7 separate regions of the Homo sapiens genome follow, and all the other regions are linked to region 2. Evidence: promoter capture Hi-C in 16 types of primary human blood cells and fetal thymus (Javierre and others, 2016). All regions are on one chromosome and are shown on one strand. The core of a region is centred on a gene start or on the middle of the fragment in contact, and the rest is flanking DNA. Distances in the headings are between cores, read along the strand shown. Region 1 overlaps LINC02437 (long intergenic non-protein coding RNA 2437). Region 2 holds the start of CASP3 (caspase 3). Region 3 overlaps LOC105377582 (a long non-coding RNA gene). Region 4 has its middle 9.8 kb from the start of LINC02437. Region 5 has its middle 36 kb from the start of ENPP6. Region 6 has its middle 16 kb from the start of ENPP6. Region 7 overlaps MYL12BP2 (MYL12B pseudogene 2).

Evidence for each region. The method cuts DNA at HindIII sites, captures the fragments that hold promoters and counts their contacts. A CHiCAGO score of 5 or more calls a contact.
Region 1: a fragment that was not itself captured here is called in contact with the fragment with the promoter of CASP3 in region 2 in 2 of 17 cell types (neutrophils and megakaryocytes); the score reaches 8.7 in neutrophils.
Region 3: a contact is called between a fragment that was not itself captured here and the fragment with the promoter of CASP3 in region 2, in 14 of 17 cell types (naive CD8 T cells, naive CD4 T cells, activated CD4 T cells and 11 more). The highest score is 12.3, in naive CD8 T cells.
Region 4: a contact is called between a fragment that was not itself captured here and the fragment with the promoter of CASP3 in region 2, in 2 of 17 cell types (M2 macrophages and megakaryocytes). The highest score is 7.2, in M2 macrophages.
Region 5: a fragment that was not itself captured here is called in contact with the fragment with the promoter of CASP3 in region 2 in 13 of 17 cell types (naive B cells, naive CD8 T cells, activated CD4 T cells and 10 more); the score reaches 8.6 in naive B cells.
Region 6: a contact is called between a fragment that was not itself captured here and the fragment with the promoter of CASP3 in region 2, in 2 of 17 cell types (neutrophils and activated CD4 T cells). The highest score is 7.0, in neutrophils.
Region 7: a fragment that was not itself captured here is called in contact with the fragment with the promoter of CASP3 in region 2 in 3 of 17 cell types (neutrophils, M2 macrophages and naive B cells); the score reaches 5.5 in neutrophils.

What each region holds. Positions count from the first base shown.
Region 1 is chr4:185,001,679-185,005,175 of GRCh38, forward strand. LINC02437 (long intergenic non-protein coding RNA 2437) reads left to right here. Exons shown (of 2, transcript XR_001741949.1): 2 at 2,822-3,497. Among named protein-coding and RNA genes, the nearest start is that of LINC02437, 14 kb to the left of the region's middle. RefSeq lists an enhancer at 3,431-3,490. The HindIII fragment of the contact is 4,746 bases long and covers 1-3,497 here.
Region 2 is chr4:184,647,671-184,651,256 of GRCh38, forward strand. It overlaps CASP3 (caspase 3), which reads right to left and starts at 1,777. Exons shown (of 8, transcript NM_004346.4): 1 at 1,725-1,777; 2 at 795-961. It overlaps PRIMPOL (primase and DNA directed polymerase), which reads left to right and starts at 2,068. Exons shown (of 14, transcript NM_152683.4): 1 at 2,068-2,238. RefSeq lists silencers at 1,285-1,494, 1,505-2,084. The HindIII fragment of the contact is 9,772 bases long and covers 1-3,586 here.
Region 3 is chr4:184,275,787-184,279,019 of GRCh38, forward strand. It overlaps LOC105377582 (a long non-coding RNA gene), which reads right to left. Exons shown (of 6, transcript XR_939552.3): 2 at 2,579-2,848; 3 at 1,391-1,542; 4 at 35-260. It also overlaps the pseudogene RN7SL28P. Among named protein-coding and RNA genes, the nearest start is that of MYL12BP2, 37 kb to the right of the region's middle. RefSeq lists an enhancer at 1-613. The HindIII fragment of the contact is 2,687 bases long and covers 361-3,047 here.
Region 4 is chr4:184,977,694-184,981,335 of GRCh38, forward strand. No RefSeq gene overlaps it. Among named protein-coding and RNA genes, the nearest start is that of LINC02437, 9.8 kb to the right of the region's middle. The HindIII fragment of the contact is 2,311 bases long and covers 905-3,215 here.
Region 5 is chr4:184,252,675-184,256,020 of GRCh38, forward strand. It overlaps the pseudogene RPL6P16. Among named protein-coding and RNA genes, the nearest start is that of ENPP6, 36 kb to the left of the region's middle. The HindIII fragment of the contact is 1,578 bases long and covers 1,159-2,736 here.
Region 6 is chr4:184,232,294-184,235,633 of GRCh38, forward strand. No RefSeq gene overlaps it. Among named protein-coding and RNA genes, the nearest start is that of ENPP6, 16 kb to the left of the region's middle. The HindIII fragment of the contact is 7,747 bases long and covers 1-3,340 here.
Region 7 is chr4:184,298,576-184,302,069 of GRCh38, forward strand. MYL12BP2 (MYL12B pseudogene 2) reads right to left here. Exons shown (of 3, transcript XM_047416561.1): 3 at 307-1,194. The coding sequence ends at 554. Among named protein-coding and RNA genes, the nearest start is that of MYL12BP2, 14 kb to the right of the region's middle. The HindIII fragment of the contact is 3,052 bases long and covers 83-3,134 here.

The DNA.
Region 1 (3,497 bases), core at 241-2,740, 350 kb after region 2:
TGCACCATCACACTCCAGTCTGGGCAACAAGAGTGAAACACCATCTCAAAAAAAAATACCTAAGCCAGCCTGTTGGGCAGAGGTGGTCTAAGGGGACTCCTGGAAGAGGGCGCCTCTGAATAGGGTGTTGAAGGATGAATTGGATTTGCCCAGGAAAGAAGGGCATTATAAGCATGAGAAACTGCCTGTGCGGAGGCAGATAGGCACAGGGCGTTGAGTGCTTGGAGGGAAAACTACGAGTACTTTAACACTGCAGGCCGCCTGAAATAACACAGCAGGAGAGGACTGCTATCTCAGGGCAAGGCACGACACGAGAGGAGTCGGGATACTTTTCTTAAAGTCAATGGAAGCAACTGAAGGCTATTAAGCATTTTAGACAGATCACCCTAACACCAGTACGTAGTAGCTTTCTGGTGATGGGCAAAAAAATAAGGCGACTCTTGCAGAAACCCATGAGAAATTGTGGGGTGTCAGTGTGGTGTCTGCGGGGGTCGGAGTGAAGGGGTGTCAGGAAGGAATCAACAGAACTTAATGTCTATGGATTGTGGTCAGAGCAGAGCGGAAGTCAAGAACAACTCAAGCATTTCTGTCTGGAGTGTTTTGGTGAAGGAATTCTAAATCGAGGCTGTTGGAGAGGGAGTGCTGTTTAGGATGTCCCAAATTTGGGACATCCAGGTGGAATGGCCTGGCAGGAATCTGGATTTAGGAGACACAGGTGGAGGCTGAGGCTGTGGGGTGCTGCTTTTCAACCCTGGCTGCACACTGGAAACACCTGAAGCTCTGACAGCCTCTCATTCTGGGCCCCACCCCAGAGCGTCTAATGTCACGGGCCCGGGCCTAGAGGAAAGCTCCCCAGGGGACTGGAGTGGGCAGCCTGGGTTGAGACCCACTGGCATAAAGAGAGGGGTTTCAAGCCTGCGGGATGCCCCTCCCCACTCTAGGATTTACCAGCCAAGTGACCCTGGGGAGGTCATTAGCCTTATGGTCTTAGTTTCCTGCACTAAAAAATTAAGATTGTACCTCTTCAAAGAATTATGAATATTACGTAAGATAACGTGTGTGAAGTGCCTAAGCCCATTCCTGGCACATACTGCAAACCAGATATGTGTCGGGATTCACTCCCAGAGCAAGTCTGAGGAAGGACATACTCTCAGCCTGCAGTCCCAAAATGGAACCAGGCTTTCTGTTTAACAGAAAGGGAAATAAGGAATCTCCCAAACCTGTCATCCACAGGACACCTCTCTGTGTGCATACCGTCCGGCTGGCTCCGACCTTCACAGAGCAGCCTTTAGAATGTAGCACAGGACACGGAAGTGTCGCAATGCCTCAGCCCTGACAGCAATGATCCAACAGCCGTGGCTCGCACTGAGACACAATGCTGGGATGCAATGGAGCCATTCACTTGTGTAGCCCCTAAACCATGATTTAGAAAGCACCGTGTGTGCAAGGAAGGGCATCTATCAGTCCTTCCTTCATCCTTTCAACCAACATTGTTCGGTCCTCGCTCTCTGCCAGCCACCACACTAGGTTCTGAGGGGGACATAATAGGCAGGAAAGAAATGGTCTGTGCCTCCGATGGGGACAGACCCATGTCCTCGACACCTGTCTAGTCCATTCCCTTTTCAGCATCAAAGCAGCCCCCATTATTTCCACCTCCATCATTTCCCTCATGGGTTTTGGCAAGAGCCTCCTAATTCTTTCACCTGTCACCAGTAGCAAGCTCTTCCAATCCATTCTGGCATCAGATACAGATTACTTATCACGTAATCCCTCAAATAAATGTTAACTGTGACTATGTATGACAACAGAGGTACCTGATGCTATGGGACCATATCTTAGGGGGCTTCGATCAAATAGAGTGGCCAGAAAGGCTTCTCCGAAGAAGTGACAGAAAACTGAGAAGTCAGTGCAGACACAAGTGGAGACGGGTTGGGGAGACTCCTCAGGCCTCACAAGCCTCACCCGTCAGCTATTCCACGCTGCCAGGCCCTTCTTTGCACAGCTCCCTCCACTTGACGTACCTACAGCAAAAGCAAGTGGTGCTTAGAGCAGGTGCCCCTCCTCAGCCAAGACTCCCTTCAGCACCGTCCCTCTCGAGGTCACTTCTGACCACACCTGCTCCCCAGTCATCGCTCCCCCGTGTCTCCGCCGGGTCTATCACCAAACCTCTCACCCAGTGCAAGACCCCGAGGTGGCAGATTCACTCCCACTGGACGGCATGCTCCTCACAGGTGGGTCTGCTTACCCCTCTATCCAGTAGCGAATGCAACGCCAGACAGAGGTTTGTCTTCAGGGATGGACTTACACGATTGTGGAGGCTTGGCAAGCCCCAAATCTGCAGGGTAGGTGGGCAGGCCGGAGACCTAGGGCACGGCTGCTGTTGCAGCTTGAGTCCTAAGGAAGTGAGTGTGGAGGCAGAATACCCCTCCTCAGGGAACCTCAGTCTTTTTCTCTTCAAGCCCTCAACTGATTGGACAAGGCCCACCACATTCAGAGGATAACCTACTTAAAGTCTACTGATGTAAATGTTAATCTCATCTTAAAATACCTTCGCAGCAACACCTGTGCTGGTGTTCTACCAAACATCTGCGTACCATGGTGCAGCCAGGTTCACACAAAAAATTAAGCATCACCCCAAGTAAAAACAGCCTTTGGTGATGATGTGTGAAGTCTTGAGACCTGCTTATGATGTGTTTATCTTCTCCATTCTCTTCCTTTTCCTCCCTCCTTTGTCTGCTCTCTTTCATGCCTCTCCCTTTTCTTCCCATTTTCCCCCTTTCTTTCCTCCTGTGTGTGTCTCCCTCCCTGTGGTTTCTTCCAGGTGTGCCGGGGGTCCCGTCAGCTGCAGGACACGGGAGGGATGGAGTGAAGCAGAAAGGCCCCGCCGTGACCACACTCATCCCAGAAGAGCCTCTCTGTTGGCATGAAAGGAAATCACAAGGAAAGGGACTTTTCAAGGTCAGACTGCACCAGTGGAAAGTCAGCACCAGCCCCCAGGGCTCGAGGCAGCCTGTGCCCTTTCCACTAACTGTGCCAACTCTCACCAGGGGAAGGCTGACCAGGAACAAAGGCCCTTAGAGGAGAGCAGAACTCCTGCAGCCTGCACTTCCGAGAGATCCTGCTCCACGGAGCCCGGCTCTACTCCTGCAGGCAGAACCTGCCAGCCCGCAGATGCTGGGGGCTGAAGGATCCCGGCGACACCAAGCGTCAGGTCAGGCGTCAGAATCCAGCGCGTTTGCTCCTCGAGAACAGCGCGCCACCTGCTCCCAAGTGTGTGAGGGGCTGCAGTGCCGAGCTCCACTTCACAAGACTCACTCCTGCCCCGCCACCTCCTGAGCAGACGCAGTCAAGCCCGACCTACCTTTCAACAAACATGTATTAGCACTCCCTCCATGCCAGGCACTGTGCCAGGTGCGAGGGTACCATGACCAAGCCAAGGCCCCAGGCTCAGAGCACTCACACGCCAGTGGAGGGGGCAGCCCTGTGCGACCCAGCAG
Region 2 (3,586 bases), core at 527-3,026:
CTCTACCATTTCTTTTCTAATTATTATTTGCTGAATAATCCTAAACCAGGTCTACTTTTTCTAGATAGGGCATAAAAGTAAAAATACAATGGATGGGCATTCACTGTGTTATGCCAGGCCCCGCATTTGGGGCAAGACACTAAGGATACCAAGATAAACCAAGTCCGTCCCTCCTGGAGTTTGCTTGCAAATCTAGCAGGGAAGATAGTAAACAAGCAACTGCAAAGGATATGACACATCTCTCTTAGGGAATGCTGGCTGCAGAAAGAACACAGCATAGGAAGATTTAACCTTAAACTGTTTAATGAAAACAGAAATTTAAGTAGCAGCTCTTCTAATCAAATGTGATGGCGGGAGAAAGGGAGTGCAGAGGTGTTGCAGGCAGACACTAGGTATGAAGGTCAGCATTGCCGTGCAGAAATCGAACCGGTGCTAAAGATAAGGAGGGGTGGGGGCACTCAGGACCCAACACACGCAGGGGTTTGTTAGCCATATTAAGTGCTGGGTTTAACCTAAGGGCAAAGGACGAGCTTTCTAGACTTTCATTTCATAAAGATCCCTCTGCCTGTGCTGTAAAAAGTGGACTGCAAAGGAGCAGGCGGGTCTGGAAGTGGAGAGACCAGGGAAGAGGCTGCTGTGGTCAGACGGCTGAAATCAGAGATAGAGAGACGCGGACAGATCTGGCAGACATTTACAAGGTCGACAAGGCTTGGCGACTAAGCAGGAAAAGAAGTGGGTGGGCGAGAGGGGGCTGCGAACGATGTTTTCCGGTTTCCTGCTTGGGTGCCACTTACTGAGAATGGGGGAAGAGGCAGGTGCAGGGCACACCCACCGAAAACCAGAGCGCCGAGTGTGAGCAGGGCTCGCTAACTCCTCACGGCCTGGGATTTCAAGGCGACGCCAACCAGCTGTGGCCACGGATACACAGCCACAGGTATGAGCTGCGAGCACTCACGAAACTCTGCAGGGCCGAAAAGGAATTGGAGTTTAAACCCTGCAACTATCTCTCTGGAAGAGCTAAACCACATTGTCAACCCGGGATAATCCAGGCCCCAGGCATGGAAGGCAGCAGAGACGGAAGCCTCGTCCAAAATTGGAAGGATCAGCCCCCAGGGCGAGTATCTCACAGTCAGCACCCGGCCGCCCCAGCCCTCGCAGCACCGCTTCCCGGGGCCACTCCTCCGCCGGCGGTAGCGCCGTCCGTTTCCCAGCTTGCCGCTGCCTTCCGCCGCCTGACCCGGCCTTCCGGCACTCGGCCGGCCGCCAGGTCTCCCGCCCTCGGAGCTCGGTGCCCCGTGCCCGACCTCCCGGCCCCGGGCTCGGTTCCCCTGGCCAGGCCTCCCGCTGCCTGGCCTCCCCGGCCCGGCCTCGCGCTGCCCGGCCTCCCCGGTCCCAGCCCAGCCTCCCGCCCCCGGGCCAGGTCTCCCCTCCGATGACCTGAGGCCTTTCCTTAGGTTACCCCCAGGTCCCTCTCCCTAAATCAAAAGCCTTAACCCGCTGCCTGGCTTCCCCGGCCCCGGCCCAGGCTCCCGCCTCCGGGCCAAGTCTCTCGCTCCGCGGGCTTCACTGCTCGCCCCCGCCCGGGCGAGGTGGCAAAACAAACACTCCGCCTTCCAGACCGGGCAGGTACCCGGGCGGGCGCAGGGCCTGGGAGAACGCAGGGAGCGGGGGCAGGGCTGACGGCCCGGAGCGAGGGCGGCAGTCACCGCACAGCCTCCTCATACCTTCTACAACCGCCTCACAATAGCACCCATCCGCTAGGAGCCGCGTCTGCACTGCTTCCGCGGCCCGCCGCCGGGAGATGTGCTCCAGCGCCAGCCCCGCCTCCCGCCCGCCCCTGTCGGCCCCTCGCGCCGCCTCCGCTGCGGCCCGTCCCCTAGCTCCCGCCCGCCCGAGAACCCAGCCCCAGGCTGGGCCCCAGGAGGCGCCCGCCCACCGCAGCGCGCCCCGCCCCCGCGCCCCGCGTCCTCACGCCCTGGTCCCGCCCTCGCGTCCCGCGCCAGTCCTCCCGCTTTGGTCCCGCCCTGAGGCTCGGCCCGGCTCCCCCGCCCCGGATTTGAAATCTAGGTCTTCCTGAGAGTCCGCGGGCTTCCGCTCCCAGCGCGGGATTCTGGAGGGAAATTGAGGGAGACTTGGAAACCGCGCCAGGCCCAACGGGTACCTAGAAGGGAGACAAAGCCAGGCCTGCTGCCCAGTTTGAGCTCTGGGAAGAAGAGGAGCAGGCCGGGACGCCCACCGGTAATTTCTGTCTCCTCTGCGATGACCTGAGGCCTTTCTTTGGGTTACCCTCAGGTCTCTCTCCCTAAATCAAAAGCCTTAACCTCCTGTCATCAGGGTGCCAGGCTAGAAATAACCAGGTCCACGCATGCTGTGTTTTCCACCATGTCAGGCTGCTGTGGACGCTCTTTCGATCACAAAAGCCACGAGCTGCGTGGAGTTCCCAAGGAGGCAGTTCTCAGCACTTGCTGGTCACTGGGTAGTCAGAGCCTGACACACAGGCTCAAGCCGCTCACGCATCATAGTAGTGTACTTAATCCACATATAAATGTTACAAGTTAAGCATCCCACAACAAAGTAGCATTTAACATCATGAGGAAAAAGAGATGGGGCAAAGAGATTAACGAACCAATCCAGAGGGAGTGAAGAAGAGGAAAAGAAGCCTGGTTTGGGCCGAGAGGTCCTTCTGCAAAGACGGCGTCAATTAAGCCGGCTGTTGGGAGCTGCCGAAGGCCCCATCTTTTATAGTCACAGAGTCCTGTGGTGAGAACTGGTAATGGAAGAGAGTGCTTGTTTGTGTCCTTACCTGGCTGGATGCGGACTATTTTTTTATTTGTTTATTAAAGTATAGTATGCTTGTTGGCAAATGCCTTATGAAATGTAAAAATGGGGTCTTCTCCTAAGATGGAGTTATTAATGGTTACGTCAATGGTGTGCTATATACACTGCCCTACCGATCCCCTTCCTATTTTGGGTCGTGAACTCATTTCAGACCCTGAAGCAAACTGTGAATCATTTTCGCAGAAGAATTCACCAACACATGTGAGCACGACATTCTGCATCAGATTTCAAAAAGTTCTTGACATTCAGAAGTCAGATTCAGGGACCCCATGGCAGAGCCTGTTTCTAACACTTGCGCCTATTCGACTATAGGGACTATATTCTGCACAGAAATATACTTAGTTTTATATATGGTTACCCCTTGCTGAGTTTATTGCATGCTTTTACATTTTCATAATACATTTGTTTGTTTCAGCCTTTCAACAATCCCTCGGGATAGGAATTCCAATTTAAAGAGGATAAGGTTTAAAGAGGTTAAGGCCGAGTTTAAAGAGGTTAAGTCCCGGCGCGGTGGCTCATGCCTGTAATCCCAGGACTTTGGGAGGCCGAGGCAGGTGGATCACGAGGTCAGGAGTTCGAGACCAGCCTGGTCAAGATGGTGAAACCCTGTCTTTACTAAAAATACAAAAAAAATTAGCCGGGTGCAGTGGTGGGCACCTGTAATCCCAGCTACTTGAGAGGCTGAGGCAGGAGAATCGCTTGAACCCGGGAGGCAGAGGTTGCAGTGAGCTGAGATTGCGCCACTGCA
Region 3 (3,233 bases), core at 454-2,953, 370 kb before region 2:
GCTTGGGGCAGCTTCTGCAGGGGTCAGTGCCTACCAGTGGAGAAGAGGACTCCAGTCGGGAAGGAAACAGAGCGGCTGGGTTCTTGGTCATCCTTGCAGGGGAGGAATTCTTCTTCACTTAGGTCTTAGCTGCCCAGTCTTCAAAACCACTTCAGGTATCTGCAGTGTACAGGGAGCCAGCTGGGAATTTCCATGGGAGTTGGGGGATTTCCAGATAGCATTTCCTCTTGAGCTGTGCATGACACTTGATAGGCCTAATGCTTTAAAAGTTTTCAGGAAAAGAGTCAGGTGTTCAGTTTTGTTAGGCATTATTTTACTTTGTGATGAATGTGTGGATGGCACACCCCAGCAACTGAGCCAAGCTTTTCCCTGTGGATTTGGGCAAGTACCTGTGAGTGTCAAGACTAAAGGGTGTTGATATAGTTTGTGTGTCTCTGTGTCCCCATCCAAATCTCACCTTGAATCGTAATAATCCCCACGTGTCAAGGGTGAGACAAGGTGAAGATAATTGAATCATGGGGGCAGTTTCCCCCATGCCGATCTCATGACCGTGAGTTCTCATGAGATCTGATGCTTTTACAAAGGGCTTCCCTCTTCGCTGTATACTCATTCTCTCTCCTGCTGCCCTGTGAAGAGGTGCCTTCTGCCATGATTGTAAGTTTCCTGTGGCCTCCCCAGCCATATGGAACTGTGAGTCAATTAAACCTCTTTTCATTATCAATTACCCAGTATCAGGTATTTCTTCACAGCAGTGTGAGAACAGACTTATACAGTAAATTGGTACCAAGAGTGGGGTGCTGCTATACTGGTACGGAAAAATGTGGAAGCAACTTTAGAACTCGGTAAGAGGCAGAGGTTGAAATAGCTTAGAGGGCTCAGAAGAAGACAGGAAGATGCGGGAAAGTTTGGAACTTCCTAGAGACTTGTAGAATGGCTTTGACCAAAATGCTGATAGTGATATGGACAGTGAAGTATAGGCTGAGGTGGTCTCAGATGGAGATGAGGAACTTGTTGGGAACTGGAATAAAGGTCGTGCTATGCTTTAGCAAAGAGACTGGTGGCATTTTGTCTCTGCCCTAGAGATCTGTGGAACTTTGAACTTGAGAGAGATGATTTAGGATATCTGGCAAAAGAAATTTCTAAGTGACAAAGTGTTCAAGAAAAACAGAGCATAAAAGTTTGGAAAATTTTCAGCCTGATGACGTGATAGAAAAGAAAAACCCATTTCCTGGGAAGAAATTCAAGCAGGCTGCAGAAATTTGCACAAGTAATGAGGAGCTGAATGTTAATCACCAAGACGATGGGGAAAATGTCTCCAGGACATGTCAGAGAACTTCACAGCAGCCCCTCCCATCACAAGCCTGGAGGCCTAGGAGGGGAAAATGGTTACCTGGGCCTGGCCCAGGGACCTGTTGCTCTGTGCAGCCTTGGGACTTGGTGTCCTGCATCCCAGCCATTCCAGTTTCAGCTGTGGCTAAAAGGGGTCGAGATCCAGCTTAGGCCATTGCTTCAAGCCTTGGCAGCTTCCATATGGTGTTGGACCTGCAGGTGCATAGAAGTCAAGAATTGAGGTTTGGGAACCTCCAACTAGATTTCCGAGGATGTATGGAAATGCCTGGATGTCCAGGGAGAAGTCTGCTTCAGGGGTGGAGCCCTCATGGAGAACCTCTGCTGGGGCAGTGTGAAAGGAAAATGTGGGGTTGGAGCCCCCACACACAGTCCCCAGTGGGACGCTGCCTACTGGGCCACCATACTTCAGGCCCCAGAATGGTAGATCCACCGACAGCTTGCACTGTGCTCCTGGAAAAGCTGCAGACTCTCAATGCCAGCCTGTGAAAGCAGGCAGGAGGGGGCTGTACCCTGCAAAGCCACAGGGTCAAAGCTGCCAAGACCATGGGAGCCCACCTCTTGCATCAGTGTGCCCTAGATGTGAGACATGGAGTCAAAGGAGATCATTTCAGAGCATTAAGATTGAATAACTGCCTTGCAGGATTTTGGACTTGCATGGAGCCTGTAGCCCCTTTGTTTGGGCCAATTTGGAAGGGGACCATTTACCCAATGCCTGTACTCCCATTGTATCTTAGAAGTAACTAACCTGCCTCTGATTTTACAGGCTCATAGGCAGAAGAGAGTTGCCTTTTCTCAGGTGAGACTTTGGACTTGGACTTTTGAGTTAATACTGGAATGAGTTAAGACTTTGAGGGACTGTTGGGAGAGCATGATTGTGTTGTGAAATGTGAGGGCATGAGATTTGGGAGGGGCCAGGGGCAGAATGATGTGGTTTGGCTCTGTGTCCCCACCCAAATATCACCTTGAATTGTAATAATACCCATGTGTCAAGGGCAGCACCAGGTGGAGATAATTGAATCATGAGGGCATTTTCCCCCATGCTGTTCTCACCATGAGTGAGTTCTCACAAGATCTGATGGTTTTATAAGAGGCTTCCCCCTTCACTCCAAACTCATTCTCTCTCTTGCTGCCTGTGAAGAGTGCCTTCCACCATGGTTATAAGTTTCCTGAGGCCTCCCCACCCATGTGAAACTGTGAGTCAATTAAACCTCTTTTATTTATAAATTACCCAGTCTCAGGTATTTCTTCATAGCAGCATGAGAATGGACTAACACAGGTGTTGATCTGTAAGGTAATATTATTGGAGTCATGACATCCAAAGTATCTTTAAACTCTTAAACAATATTTGTTCATTTCACATTTTTATATCTTCCTGGCACTATGCAGGGCAAACAATTGTAGCATACAAAGTGAATTATAGAAAACCTTACATATGGGTCTTGAGGAATTCTTGCACTTTTTCTCCCACTTTATGACACACTTCCATGTGCCATTATATCTAAAAAAAATAAAATAAAATCAACTCCAAAAGCAGAGAGCAAAGTCATAACCCATCTCAGCAAAGGTTTATTAAATTTCATTCATCCCAGAAGCTGCTCTGCCAACATTTTTCATCTTTTTCCTTTCTTCCTTTCCAATTTTATGATTTTTTTCTTTTCCACCTAAGGAAACCTTCTAGCGTCTCTTTGCCTACACTAAGCTTTTTTATATCTACAGCTCTTCCCATTACCATTAAAAGGCAAGAGGAAGAGAAGAGGATCTTTGTATACTTGTCTCTATCGTACAGTATATGAATGTATGCCAGGTGTGGTGGCACATGCCTGTATTCCCAACTACTCAGGAGGCTAAGGGAGGAAGGTTGGCTTGAGCCCAAGAGTTCTGGG
Region 4 (3,642 bases), core at 810-3,309, 330 kb after region 2:
TATGTTTATACAATGATAAGAATGAAAACAGTAGAGATAGGTAAATCGTTCAAGTTTTCAACTGAAAGAATTATTTGTGTTTAGGGAAGGTGTGAAGTGTAAATCTCTACAGAAAAAAAAGTTTCAAAATAGCAAATCTAATGGATGTGGGCTCTGTTAGGAACAGCATGGCCATGCTTTCAAACCTCCTTCAGGGCTGTCCTGGGCAACAGAGGAACGCTTTTGATCTGCTGTCTTGGCAAATTTCAAGTACACAATCCGTGATTATTAGCTACAGTCACCAGCTGAAGTGTTCTCAGCACACACACACACACACACACACACAAGGTAACTATGGGAGGTGATGGATATGTTAATTAGTTTGATCGTGTATATATTCACAAAGTGTATATATATATATGTATCAAAAGATCACATTGTATACACCAAATATATATGATTTGTATTTGTTAATCATACCTCAGTAAAGCTGGAAACATTTTTTTCAATTAAAATTGCCTCGAAAAGTAAAAATGAGAAGAATTATAAATATTTAGTAAATGTCAAGTGCTTTATTCATGGATAACAAAATATATTTATAGTGCAAAAAACAACAAGAAAGAACATAAGAAGTGAGTTCATGCTCTCAGCCCTCCCCCAGCTCCGCCCTCCCCGAGGTCCCAGTGTTCCGTCCTCTTTCTGTCTCTAACCTTCCACAGACCGAGTTCCCTGAACCCTTCTCTTAGCCTCGCCCTCTGCTCCTGGGAGACAGCCAACATGGATGGAGTCACGTCTGCTTATATCTTTAGCCAGGACTCACTAGAATGTTCTTATCCTTCTCAGGAAATAGGTTTTTTTCTTGTGCAATATTATTTTCTACTGCCCCCATCTCCAATTTGAAAAGTAGCAGGTGCTCATTATAAAAAGCTTCCAGTTTAAAAAATGTTGTAATATTATTTTAATCTTTTTTAGTGTTACATAAGAGCTGTACAAATCTTCAGGGCATATGTGATATTTTGACACATTGCTATATTGTGTAAAGGTCAAGTCGGGGAATTGGGTTATCCCTCACCTTAAATATTTATCTTTCCTTTATGCTGGGAACATTTCAATCATTCTCTTCTAGCTATTTTGAGTTGTGCAGTAGATTATTGTCAAATATGGTCACTCTACTGATCTATCGAACACTAGGTCTCATTTCTTCTATCTGACTGCATATTTGTACCCATTGATCAATGAGAGTTTATACATTTTCTGTATTATATTGGGGACCCGTCTGTTGTGTTCTGGGGCCTGCCCCATTCACAGCTGTCCCAAGGGGGTTTCTTACCCACAGTCTACTGAGCTGTGTGTCTGTTGACTCTGCCCCTGCCCTTGCCCGCTGGATTGACCAGGGCGGTCCCACAGTCACTCATGCTTTGTGGTGGGATGCAAGAGGCAGCAACAGTACTGCCCTCACTCACTTCTGCAAAACACTCGTGGCTGCTACCTTCTGCGTGCCAGGATTCCCAAAAGCCTCATGGACACTCTTTTAAAGCACTGCCTCCAAAGAAGGCCTTCTAAAAATACACGTGTGATTTTAAAATGTTCATGCACTTGGATCCCATGATTCTACTTCTGGAAATGTATCCAAAGGATATACTCATAGATATTCAAATAGAGACCTGTAAAAGGGACTTTCTGTGTGACATTATTACTTTTCTTGGGTCAGATTTCTTCTATGTCTATTTCTTGTTTCATGGCAAACTGTGGGTGAGAAGCCCGTCCGCATGGCTGTGAATGGAGCAGGCCCTGGAACTCAACAGATTGGTCCCCAAAATAATTCAGAAAATGTATACACTCTTGTTGATTAATACACAGTTAGATAGAAGGATCCAGAAGTAGCTTGGGTGCCAGCATCCTGTCAGCCCCAGGGCAGAGTGCCTGTCTCAAAGGCAGCAACCCCGGCTGGCGTGGCTGCAGCGTGGGCTCCTGTAAGGCTCTGCCCTGACTGCACTGCACTCAGGCCCTCTTGTCGGGAGCTGAGCGACGAGACACGCAGGACCGTCTCGCAGGACTGAGGGGTGCAGGAGAGCATTTGCCTACGACCCGCAGAGGGAAGGAACGAAGCAGAAGCCACAGAAGAGAAAAAAGGGAAGGGGAGGGTTTAGCTGGTGGGAGCAGAAGGAGAGAGAAAGAGAGAGAGAGAGAGAGAGACAACACTAGACTCCCAGCTTCATGAGGGAAGCGGCCAAGTGTGCCTTGTTCACGTCCACATGCCGGGAGATAAGCCGTGCCTGGCAGATGGAAGTCACTCCTTCAGAGTTTGTGGACTGATGGACAGACGGAAGAGAGAGCACAGAGCAGGCAGGGTGTCTGGAAGCCCCCCCGGGCCTGCAGCCTGCTGCTCCTGCAGATCTCTGAGGGGCTGCTGTTGCCATCATCCACATGGCCCCTTCCAGCCTCCTCTGCAGACAAGATTCCTTCCTGCCTTCCTTGTTGTCCCGCAGCCTCTTACGGTCAACCTCATCATGTAAGAGACCTGGATGGTTTTCTGGTTCCTGACAGCTCAGAGACCCCAACAGAGAAATGGTCAAGAAAGAACAAAGTAAAAGTCCTCCACGAGCCAGAGATGACCATTGTTTCCTCCTGAAAGCGTATTGTTCTGTGTTCTGCTTTTTAACACTAAACAAGTGAAATATTTCCACGCCACAAGTAGCCTTTCAAAATGCAATGTCAGTGGTTACATTTGGTTGCTCCATTCTTTAGGGTATCAGATGTTAGATGTTAGACATTCTGGTTTTTCTTGGAAGCTCGCTCTGTAAATAAATGATTCAACTTCTGGAATCATTCATGTGAAGACCAACATTCATTTGCATGTCTGCGCCCTGTGGTCCACACAGACCTGCACATGAATGTTTTAGCTGCTTTATTCCTGATTGCCAGACACCAGAAACAACCCAAATGCCCACCGATAGGAAAATGGGTCAACAAACTATAGGACAACACAATGGAATACTACTCACCAATAAAAGGAGCAAACAACCCATGAATGCAATACCATGGATGCATCGAAAAACATTTGCTAAATGACAGAAGCCAGGTGCAGATGGCCACACCTGTAATTCCATTTGTGTGACGTTCACAAAAGGCAAAACTACAAGCTGCAAAGCAGATCAGCGCTGCCAGGGGCTAGGGATTGCGGCAGGGGATTGACCACAAAGGGTAGCATGGGTGAACTTTTTGGAATGATGGGAAGCTTTTTTATTATGGGGGTGGTTACATGACTGTATACGTTTGGCAAAACTTATCCAGCTGTCTACCTTATAAGGATCAATTTTATTGTATGTAAAGTATACCCCACCTAAATCTGACCCGAGAAAAATAATAATGTAATGTAGAATATTCCTTTTATGGATCTCTATTTGAATATCTATGAGTATATCCTTTGGATATATTTCCAGAAGTAGAATCATCGGATCCAAGTGCATGAACATTTTAAAATCACACGTGTATTTTTACAAGGCCTTCTTTGGAGGCAGTGCTTTAAAGGAGTGTCCACGGGGCTTTCAGGAATCCTGGCACATGGAAGGGAGCAACCACGAGTGTTTTGCAGAAGTGAGGGAGGGCAGTCCTGTTGCTGCCTCTTACATCCCACCACAAAACATAGGCGACTATAGGACC
Region 5 (3,346 bases), core at 698-3,197, 390 kb before region 2:
TCAGAAGTGACCTGCCAGTAAGCCTCGTTTGTACCATGAGCTCAGAAGTCTCACATCCAACTGAGATTCAGACTCTAGAACGTGGATCCCAGTGAGAGGTGACAAGGTGCTGGTGGCCCTCGCTCTCTCTCAGCGCCTCTTCAGCCTGGTAGTCTGCTCTGGCAACGCCTGAGGAGCCCTTCAGCCTGCCGCTGCACTGTGGGAGTCCCTCTCTGGGCTGGCCGAGGCTGGAGCCAGCTCCCTCTGCTGGCAGGGAGGTGTGGAGGGAGAGGCCCGGGCGGGAACCGGGGCTGCGCGCGGTGCCCGCGGGCCAGTGCAAGTTCCAGGTAGGCATGGGCTTGGCGGCCCTTTACTCAGAGTGACAGGCTGGCACTGCCAGCCCCAGCAGTGAGGGGCTTAGCACCTAGGCCAGCAGCTGCGGAGGGGGCACCAGGTTCCCTAGCACTGCCGGCCCGCCCGTGCCACACTCGAATTCTCACAGGGCCTCAGCCGCCTCCCCGCAGAGCAGGGCTTGGAACCTGCAGCCCGCCATGCCCGAGCGGCCCACCCCCGCCGTGATGTGCTCCTGCACCGCCCGAGCCTCCCTGACCGGCACCGCCCCCTGCTCAGGGGCACCGGGTCCCATTGACCACCCATGGGCTGAGGAGTGCAGGCGCCGTGTGCGGGTCTGGTGGGCAGCTCCGCCCACGGCCCTGGCACGGGACCCACTAGGCGAAGCCAGCTGGGCTCCTGAGTGGGGTGGGGACTTGGAGAACTTTTATGTCTAGCTAAAGGTTTGTGAACACACCAATCAGCACTCTGTTTCTAGCTTAAGGTTTGTAAACACACCAATCAGCACCCTGTGTCTAGCTAAAGGTTTGTAAATGCACCAATCAGTGTTCTGTGTCTAGATAATCTGGTGAGGACTTGGAGAACTTTTATGTCTAGCTAGAGGATTGTAAATGCACCAATCAGCACTCTGTGTCTGGCTCAGGGATTGTAAACACACCAATCAGCACCCTGTCAAAAGGGACCAATCAGTTCTCTGTAAAACAGACCAATCAGCTCTCTGTAAAATGGACCAATCAGCAGGATGTGGGTGGGGCCAGATAAGGGAATAAAAGCAGGCTGCCCCAACCAGCAGTGGTAACCTGCTCAGGTCTTTTTCCGGTCTGTGGAAGCTTTGTTCTTTTGCTCTTTGCAATAAATTTTGCTGCTGTTTACTCATTGGGCCTGCACTGCCATTATGAGCTGTAACCGTCACTTCCTAGACCTGCCGCTTCACCCTTGAGGCCAGCAAGACCACAGACCCACTGGGAGGAATGAACGACTGCGGATGGGAGGAATGAATGACTACAGGCGCACCGTCTTAAGAGTTGTAACACTCACCGTGAAGGTATATAGCTTCAGTCCTGAAGCAGCGAGACCACGAACCCACCAGAAGGAAGAAACTTTGAACATGTCCGAACAGCAGAAGGAACAAACTCCCAACACACCATCTTTAAGTAAACTCTCACACTCACCACGAGGATCTGTGGCTTCATTCTTGAAGTCAGTGAGACCAAGAACCCACCAATTCCGGACACACCAGGGTCTTGTTCCTCAGTACTCCTTCCCATATTGAGAGGAGCTGGTCCTGCCATTCTCCCTGACACTGGCCAGGCATTAAGTATATTTGCAGGCTGAATATCTTTCTTGTGTTGTATGTTTGTCTCCTCCAGCACTACACATTCTGTGAATCTATTTGTAGCCTTTCAAGCAATTGATAAAACACTGATACTTTTGCCTCTGCCTCTGCATCTATTCCGTAGTGAGTTGCATCAAAACAAGACCCAACGCTTTCCCGTGTCGCAAGATGATGAGTGAAAAATTGAGCAGCGGGAAGCTAAGGAAAGAAACCTGTAGCCAAGAAGGCTCATGCCAGTGGCAAGATTAAGAAGGGTAATCTCAAACCCAAAGAGCCCAGGATGGGGAAGCCCCTCTGTAGCAGAAACCCTGTCCCATCAGGGGTATGGGCAGATATTCCTGACCTGCTTGTAGTCCAGAAAAGCCATGTACAAGAGGAAGCATTCAGCCGCTAAATCCAGATTTGGAAAAAAAAAAAAAATGGTTCTTGCTACTGTCACAAAACCAGCAGAGGATGATAAGAATGGAGGTGCCTGGATGGTAAAACTTCCGGAAATGCCTACCTATGTGCCTACTCAAGATGCGCCTTGGAATCATGGAGCCCTGGCAAACAAAACAAAACCCTTCAGTCAGAACGTGGGAAGGCTGCAGGCAGCCTCACTCCCCCGGGACTGCTCCCATCATCCTCACTGGGCGCCACGGAGTCCAGAGGGTGGTTTTCCTGAGCTGAGCAGTAATTAGACCTCTGCTTCTCAACTGAGTTCCTCTGTGTGGAACATACTGGAAATGTGTCATCAGCACCTCCATCAAAGTTGCGATGAGCAGTGTGAAAATCCCCCACATCTGGCTGCTGCACACGCACAGACACCAGGAAGGTGAGCACTTCCACACAGAGAAGGAAATGCGGCTTACACAGCAGTGCGAGACAGATCAGAAAGCTGTGGACTCACAAATGCTGCCCCGAACCAAAGCTGTCCCTCAGCTCTAGGGCTACCTTCATTCTGTGTTCTCACTCACAAACGCAATGTGTCCTGACCAACTGCGGTTCTCAATTTCTTGCAAAGAACCTAATTAAATAATGGATACATTTCAAACCAACCAACCAACCAAGCCTGGGTGCTTCTTGCAGAAAGCTTCCAGCCCTTTTTGCTGGATGGGAGCCCAGTCCTCACTGCTGCGAGAGGAGCAGGGGCAGAAACAATGAGTGCTGTCCCCAGCTGCCCCCAGCCAGGCCTCCAGGCCCAACTCCTGCTGCACCTAGGGGGCCGCCACCATGGGCTCCCAGGGACACACGCTTGCTGCCCAAGGGCAGTGTGAGCAGAAGGGCCTACTCCCTGCAGGCTTCAGGAGAACAAAGGCCCTGATTCAGGGCTGCAGTTTCCTGCTGCTGCTAGCAGAAGGCTGCAGGCCGGGCTCTCCTACCCAGGCAACATCACACTTCTGGCTTTCTTCACTGAGTCCCCAATAAATAGGAGGCTTTGAGCTGCAAAATGTGATGCTGTATTTCATGAAACCCCAGAGACCCCAAATGACTGCCCCTGTGCTTCTGAGGGGTTTCTTAAGGGTAGTGTGTTTCCAGGATGAGTTACAATACCTTTTGTCCCACAAGCGAGACACTTTTGCATATGTGCCACTCTGGTTCGGCCCGCGAGGCTGTAGCGGGGGCTGACACGTGGTATTTTTGTGGGGAGTCATTGCCATTTGCTTTGACTGAGACTTTTCGGAGGGCTTTGCTGTCAAA
Region 6 (3,340 bases), core at 186-2,685, 420 kb before region 2:
AGGATTAAACTCAGTCACCAGCCCCTTTCCCCTCCCTGGAGATCAGACTGGCTCAAAGTCCTAACCTCCTGAGATCACATGGTTGGTCTTTCTGGTGACCAAAGATGCCCCTATTATTCAGGAAATTCCGAGTACTCAGAGTCTCTCTCCCAGGAACTAGGGACAAAGGCCAGTCCAGTGCTTTATTACACAAACAGTTGCATACCTGTTCTCCTTAGCTTGGTGAGATCTCCTCTTTCTGTCTTCAGGCCACAATCAAGTTCCCTGCATGAACTCTGAGATCAGCCAACCTTGAGATAGAACTTATGACAGAGTCCTCTGCAACATGGGGTGCCCAGAGGGCATGAGTTTTGGATGTGGGCCCCACCCCCACAGAATCTGGCCTGATTCTGATACTTCAACCAAGCAAGGTGCTGGGATCCATTCAGTCTTTTCAGGTGACTGTATTTTTTGAACACCACTTATTTTATCTGTGGAAAATTATTTCTAAAATGCCTTATGCTAGCTAATGAAGACTTAGTATCTATAATAATAAAATAGAAAACATTTTCTTTAACCACCTCTGATTATAAATTTCTGTTCAAATGCTGAGTAATTACCCCTGGAGTATAGATGAAAGGTAATTCATGTACCCATATGTGATGGTTCATACTGAGTGTCGGCTTGATTGGACTGAAGGATGCAAAGTATTGTTCCTGGGTGTGTCTGTGAGGGTGTTGCCAAAGGAGATTAACGTTTATGTCAGTGGACTGGGAGAGGCAAACTCACTCTCAGTCTGGGTGAGCACCATCTAATCGGCTGCCAGCATGGCTAGAATAAAGCAGGCAGAAGAACATAGAAGGACTTGACTTGCTGAGTCTTCCAGCCTTCATCATTCTCCTGTGCTGGATGCTTCCTGCCCTAGAACATCAGAGTCCAAGTTCTTCAGCTTTTGGACTCTTGGACTTTTGGACTCAGTGGTTTGCCAGGGGCTCTTGGGCCTTCGGCCACAGGCTGAAGACAGAACTGTCGGCTTTCCTACTTTTGAGGTTTTGGGACTTGGACTGGCTTCCTTGTTCCTCATCTTGCAGATGGACTATTGTGGGTCTTCACCTTGTGATCGTGTGAGTCAGTACTCCTTAATAAAATCCCCTTTATATATACATTTATCCTATTAGTTCTGTCCCGCAAGAGAACCCTGACTAATATAACATAAGTTACACTTTCTATTCTGAAGTAGTTTAAGTAGTTTACCTCATAGACAATGGAACACTTTTGTACTAATATTTTAATACACTGTGACATTATAATTTAAAATTCTTTTTATATTAATAATGCCATCTGTGTGTTTATTGGTGGGGCTCATGCTCCTGCTGAAAAGAAAGTGTACTCGGAAAATCAACTTTGAAATAGAAATTCTGTGTGTTAAAGTGCTAAGAAGATGGGCATACATAAGTACCATGTTGTCCCAGACTGTTAATTAAGAGGACAGCATTCTGCAAAGTATCAGAGTTCAAGGTGAAACGAAGTAGTAAAGAAAGTGTTCACAACAGTCATTCTAGTGTTAAAAGAAAAACCCTAGCCAAATTAAGTTTAATAGTGTTTAATTGAACAGAGAATGATTTGCCAGTTGGGCAGCCTCCTGAGCCAGAGTAGGCTCGAGATACTCCAGTGCATCTAGGTGGTGGAAGAAGACTTATGGGCAGAAAAAGAAAAGTGATGTACAGAAAACAGAAGTGAGGTACACAAACAGCCAAATTGGTTACAGATCAGCTTTTGATTTACTTGAACCCGTTTTGAACAGTTGATCCCTTTTGGCCAAAATTCAGTGATTGGCACAAGAGAAGTGTTAAATCAGGTTTAGCCTAAAGCTGCCTCATTACCTGCTTTAAGTTTGGCCTAAAGGTTTCTCTGTACATCATGAATTATAACCTAAATAGAGTTGTAAACAGACTGTAACCAACTCTTGTGCCAATCACCAAGTTTTGGCCAATCAAATATGGTCAATTGTTCAAACCATGTTCAAATAAGGCAAACACTGACCGGTAATCAATCGGCAGTTTCTGCACCTCACTTCTGTTTTCTCTGAGTCACTTTCCTTTTTCTGCCCATAAATCTTCTTCTGCCACGTGGCTGTGTTGGAATCTCTCTGAGCCTACTGTGGCTCAGGAGGCTGCCCGATTCATGGATTGTTCTTTGCTCAATTAAACTCTTTTAAATTTAATTTGGCTAAGGTTTTTCTTTTAAAGATAGGTTACAATCTGTTTACACCTCCATTTAGGTTATGGCTCCCTGTATACAGAGAAACTTTTAGGCTGAATTTAAAATATGTAAGGAGGCAGCTTTAGGCTAAACTTGATTTAACACTAGGTTTATGAATACACAGTTTATATTTATTCCTATTAGGATAATAGTCTTTATTTGTGCGTGTTTTAAATTGAACAAGGCTTCTAAGAACACATTCCTTATATAAAAGGCAGCTATCTTCCAACTGACTAAATAGGAATGCACAGGCACTAAGTGGAATAGCTAGAAACAGTTCTTCAGACTCCTCATCTCACATTTGGGCATCATATTGGCTACTTCATGGTGGGAACCAGGGTCTTCTCTTTATTGCTGTGAGTCATCACTGGGTGGGACCAGCTGTCAGCCTTTACAGGGATCCCAGGCTCATTCCTGCTGCACAGACCCCTGCTCTCACCTCTCTCCTGGAGAGTTAAAGGCTGAGACCCACCCCATCAAAATTCAATAAGGTCTAGACTAAGACTGGGCATCTATCTATATATCTATCTGTCTATCTATCTATCTGTCTGTCCATTTATCTATCTATCTATCTATCTATCTATCTATCTATCTATCTAAGCTCCTCATATGACTTCGATCAAAAGTCAGGCTTAGGAACCATTGCTGACAATAACAGGCAGCAATGAGTTACTCTGAACAATACCGTGTCATCATCAGATTTGCATTTTAGAAAGCAGGCTCTGGAAGAAGTATGGAGGTGACAACAGTGCTGGTGGAAGCAATAATAATAATCATACAGCTCTCCCCTTCATCCTCAGGGGATACGTTCCAAGACCCCCAGTGGATGCCTAAAACCACAGATAGTACAGAACCCTATATATACCATGGTTTTTGATCTGGTAACTCAGATGCCTACTAAGTGACTAGAGGACAGATAGTGTATCAGTGCCAAAGGGATAATTCCCTTCCCAGGCTGGTGGAGTGGGACAGTGCAAGATTTTGTCCCCAGTTCCTGGCACAGAGCTCCTAAAAACTCTTGGACTTTCCTGGGTGAGAGGAGCTATTTTTGTTACCCTTAATAAGCTCCTTTCAACCATACCTGAGTTTATGCTAATGA
Region 7 (3,494 bases), core at 359-2,858, 350 kb before region 2:
TCATAGACTAATTAGAAGGTTTAGCTTTCATATGGGGGAAGGATTAGCCCTGGATTAAAAGCTGTTCTGTTCTCCCTAAAAAAGCTTAAATCAGGCCTCAAAACGAACTATTTCTTTTTTTTTTTTTTTCAAGAGATCACTTTTTATTGTGATACACAGTTTACTGAAGACAGGAACTGCTCTGATGACGAGCATCACAGAGTTTTAAGCAGATACTGGCAACACCTGACTCACTAAAGCAGGAGGCAGTTACACAATTACAGCAGTACAGTACATACTAGTTTATAGAGTTATGTTTTTTTGGGGGGGCTTTCACATTTGTTGATTTTTATTGGCGATCTCTTTTTCAATACAATTTATGCCCTCATCCTCATTTCCCGTCTGATTATACAAGTGCTAAGTGGCAGAAAGTTCTGGAATAAATACATAAAAAAAAAGAGGCAAAGCTGTGAAACTAAGTTGCATGCAACAGGTTCTATGAGGGTGGTGGAAGTGTGTGAGAAACAAAACAGAGTAAGACAATGTAACTGGAAGGTTTTAGCTAAAGTTCTTTTCAGTCATCTTTGTCTTTTACTCCATGTTTCAGGATGCTTGTGAATTCGATGTAATTGAAATTCCCCTTTTTGTCAATAGGTGCTTCTGTGTACAGCTCATCCACTTCCTCATCCGTAAACTGATCCCCCACGGTTGTCAGCAGCTCTCTCAGGTAATCTTCCTGAATGGTGCCTGTTGCTTCTTCATCAAAGCAAGCAAAAGCATTTCTGATGACGTCTTCAGGATCTGTGCCATTTAACTTCTTACCAAACATGGCGAGCAACATGGTGAAGTTAATGGGCCCTGGTGCCTCATTCATCACGGCATCAAGGCATGCATCAGTGGGATTCTTCCCTAGAGAAGCAAGCATACCATGCAAATCTTCCTTGCTGATGAAACCATCTCTGTTCTGATCAATCATGTTGAAGGCCTCTTTGAACTCCTGAATCTGTGACTGGTCAAACGTGGCAAACACCTTGGACGTTGCACACTGAGGGCGCTTCTTGGTGGTCTTGCCTTTTTGCTCAACATGGTGGTTGCTTAATTCCGGCACCAAATACCAGAAACGGAACCACCCTGTGCGAGATGACAAGCGACAGCGAGGAGCGCGGGGCTGTGGCCAGACAGTGGCGGCTATAGAGCTATGATTTAATACTGCATTTTAAATTTGCTTACATGTACAGTCTGTATGTTTTCATAAAATTTAACTTTTAATAGATTTGTGTATTTTGTGGTCGTGCTCACCGCAACCTCTGCCTCCCGGGCCCAAGCAATTCTCCTGCTTCGGCCTCCCGAGCAGCTGGGACCACAGGCATGTGCCCCCATTCCAGGCCAATTTTGTAATTCTGCTAGAGACGGGGTTTCTCCATGTTGGTCAGCCTCGTCCCGAACTCCCAACCTCAGGTGATCTGCCCACCTCGGCCTCCCAAAGTGCTGGGACCACAGGCATGAGCCACCATGCCCAGCCTGTGAATTCTCCAAGTTGTCACAAAGCTCCAAACAAATTTCCAATATATTTATTGAAAAAAAAATTATGGCCGGGCACAGTGGCTCACTCCTGCAATCCCAGCACCCTGGGAGGCCGAGGTGGGTGGATCACGAGGTCAAGAAATCGAGACCATCCTGGCCAACATGGTGAAACCCCGTCTCTACCAAAAACACAAAAATTAGCCCGGCATGGTGGCATGTGCCTGCAATCCCAGCCACTTGGGAGGCCGAGGTAGGAGAACCACCCAAACCCAGGAGGCGGAGTCCACAGTGAGCTGAGACCACACCACTACACTCCAGCCTGGCGACAGTGAGACTCTGTCTCAAAAAAAAAAAAAAAAAAAAAAAATTGCATATACCTGTGCACTTCAAATTTATGTTGTTCAAGGGTCTAATGCATAATTTTTTCAGTAAACTCAATTAGTGGGTTCCCCAAATTGTGGGATAAATCTTTTATGTAAATTCATGTGTTTTACAGACATGTGAAGACATCCCACAATACACTAATTACAGTCTTATTCAAATCTCAACTCTATTACAGATTTTGCATGTCAAGAAATCTTTTAGGTTCTGCTATTCCTCAGACTACGTTCCTGACCTCATTGAGGGTTTCAGAGGATAAATCAGGGGTCAGACTGGTAGAGTCACATAGAGAAGGAAAGAAAATAAGAAAAATGCTAGGAAAACCAGGCAGTGTCTCAATTACTACAGAATGGTCTTCACAAACTGGCATCACTGTTATGCTGGCAATAAATTTGCAAATCTCACACACCTCTTCTAATGTAAGTAGAAAACACAGACATTCAGGCTAGGTGCAAGGGGTTCACACCTGTAATCCCAGCCCTTTGGGAGGCCAAGATTGCTTGAACCCAAGAGTTCAAGACCAGCCTGGGCAACACGACAAGACCTCATCTCTACAAAAAAATTTAAAAATTAGCCGGGCGTGGTGGGGCGCAGTTGTAGTCTCAGCTACTTGGGAGGCTGAGGTGGGAGGATCCATTGAGCCTGGGAGGCTGAGAGTGCAGTGAGCTGTGATTGTGCCACTGCGCTCTGGCCTGGGTGAGAGGAGTAAGACCATCTCAAAAAAAAAAAAAAAAGACACGCAGAGCTGATTTTTTGTTTTTAGGATCCACACATCTAAAAGTTGAATAATTAAAGAAAAATTAATCAGCACTGATTGACTCTGGAAGAGTATTAAATTAGCTTTTCCCTTTAAAGTAGACCCCAGGCTTAACTTACCTCAAGCTCTTTTGATTCTGATAGCCTGTATGCCTATACTGTATAAGCTAAAGAGTGCATCAGTCTTTTCTATCACTTTAAATACAATAAAACTGTTTCTAAGCAACTTAATTGCATCCCAGAACAAAACGCAAGAATATCTATAAGAATATTAATCTATCCAGGACCTAAAAAGAAAAATTCATAATGTCTGGCACCCAACAAAAAATCACCGGATAGCCAAAGAAACAAGAAAATATAACTCATAAAGAGAAAAGTCAATGAAGAGAACTATACAGAAATTATAGTTATAACTGTATTCCATATATTTAAGAAGATAGAAGAAATATTGAACATATTAAGGAAGGGGAAAATATTTTTTAAAATGTAAATTAAGCTTTTTGGAATCTACAATTTCTGAAATAAAACATATATTGGATAGGATTAATCACAGTTTAGACATCTAAGAAGAAAAGATTAGTAAACTTAAAGAAAAGCAATAGAAACTGCAAATAAACACAGAGAGAAAAATGGCTGACAATAAAAATGAACAGAGCATCAGTGAGTTGTGGGACATCTTTAAGTAGTTTCCTACATGTGTAATTAGTCTATAAAGGATCAAAAAGGACAGAAAATATATTTGAAAAATTAATGGCCACAAATTTTCAAACTTGATGAAAACTGTGAAACTACAGATCCAAGAAGCTCAGTAAACCCCAAGCACAAGAAATGTGAAGAAAACTACAAGTCACATC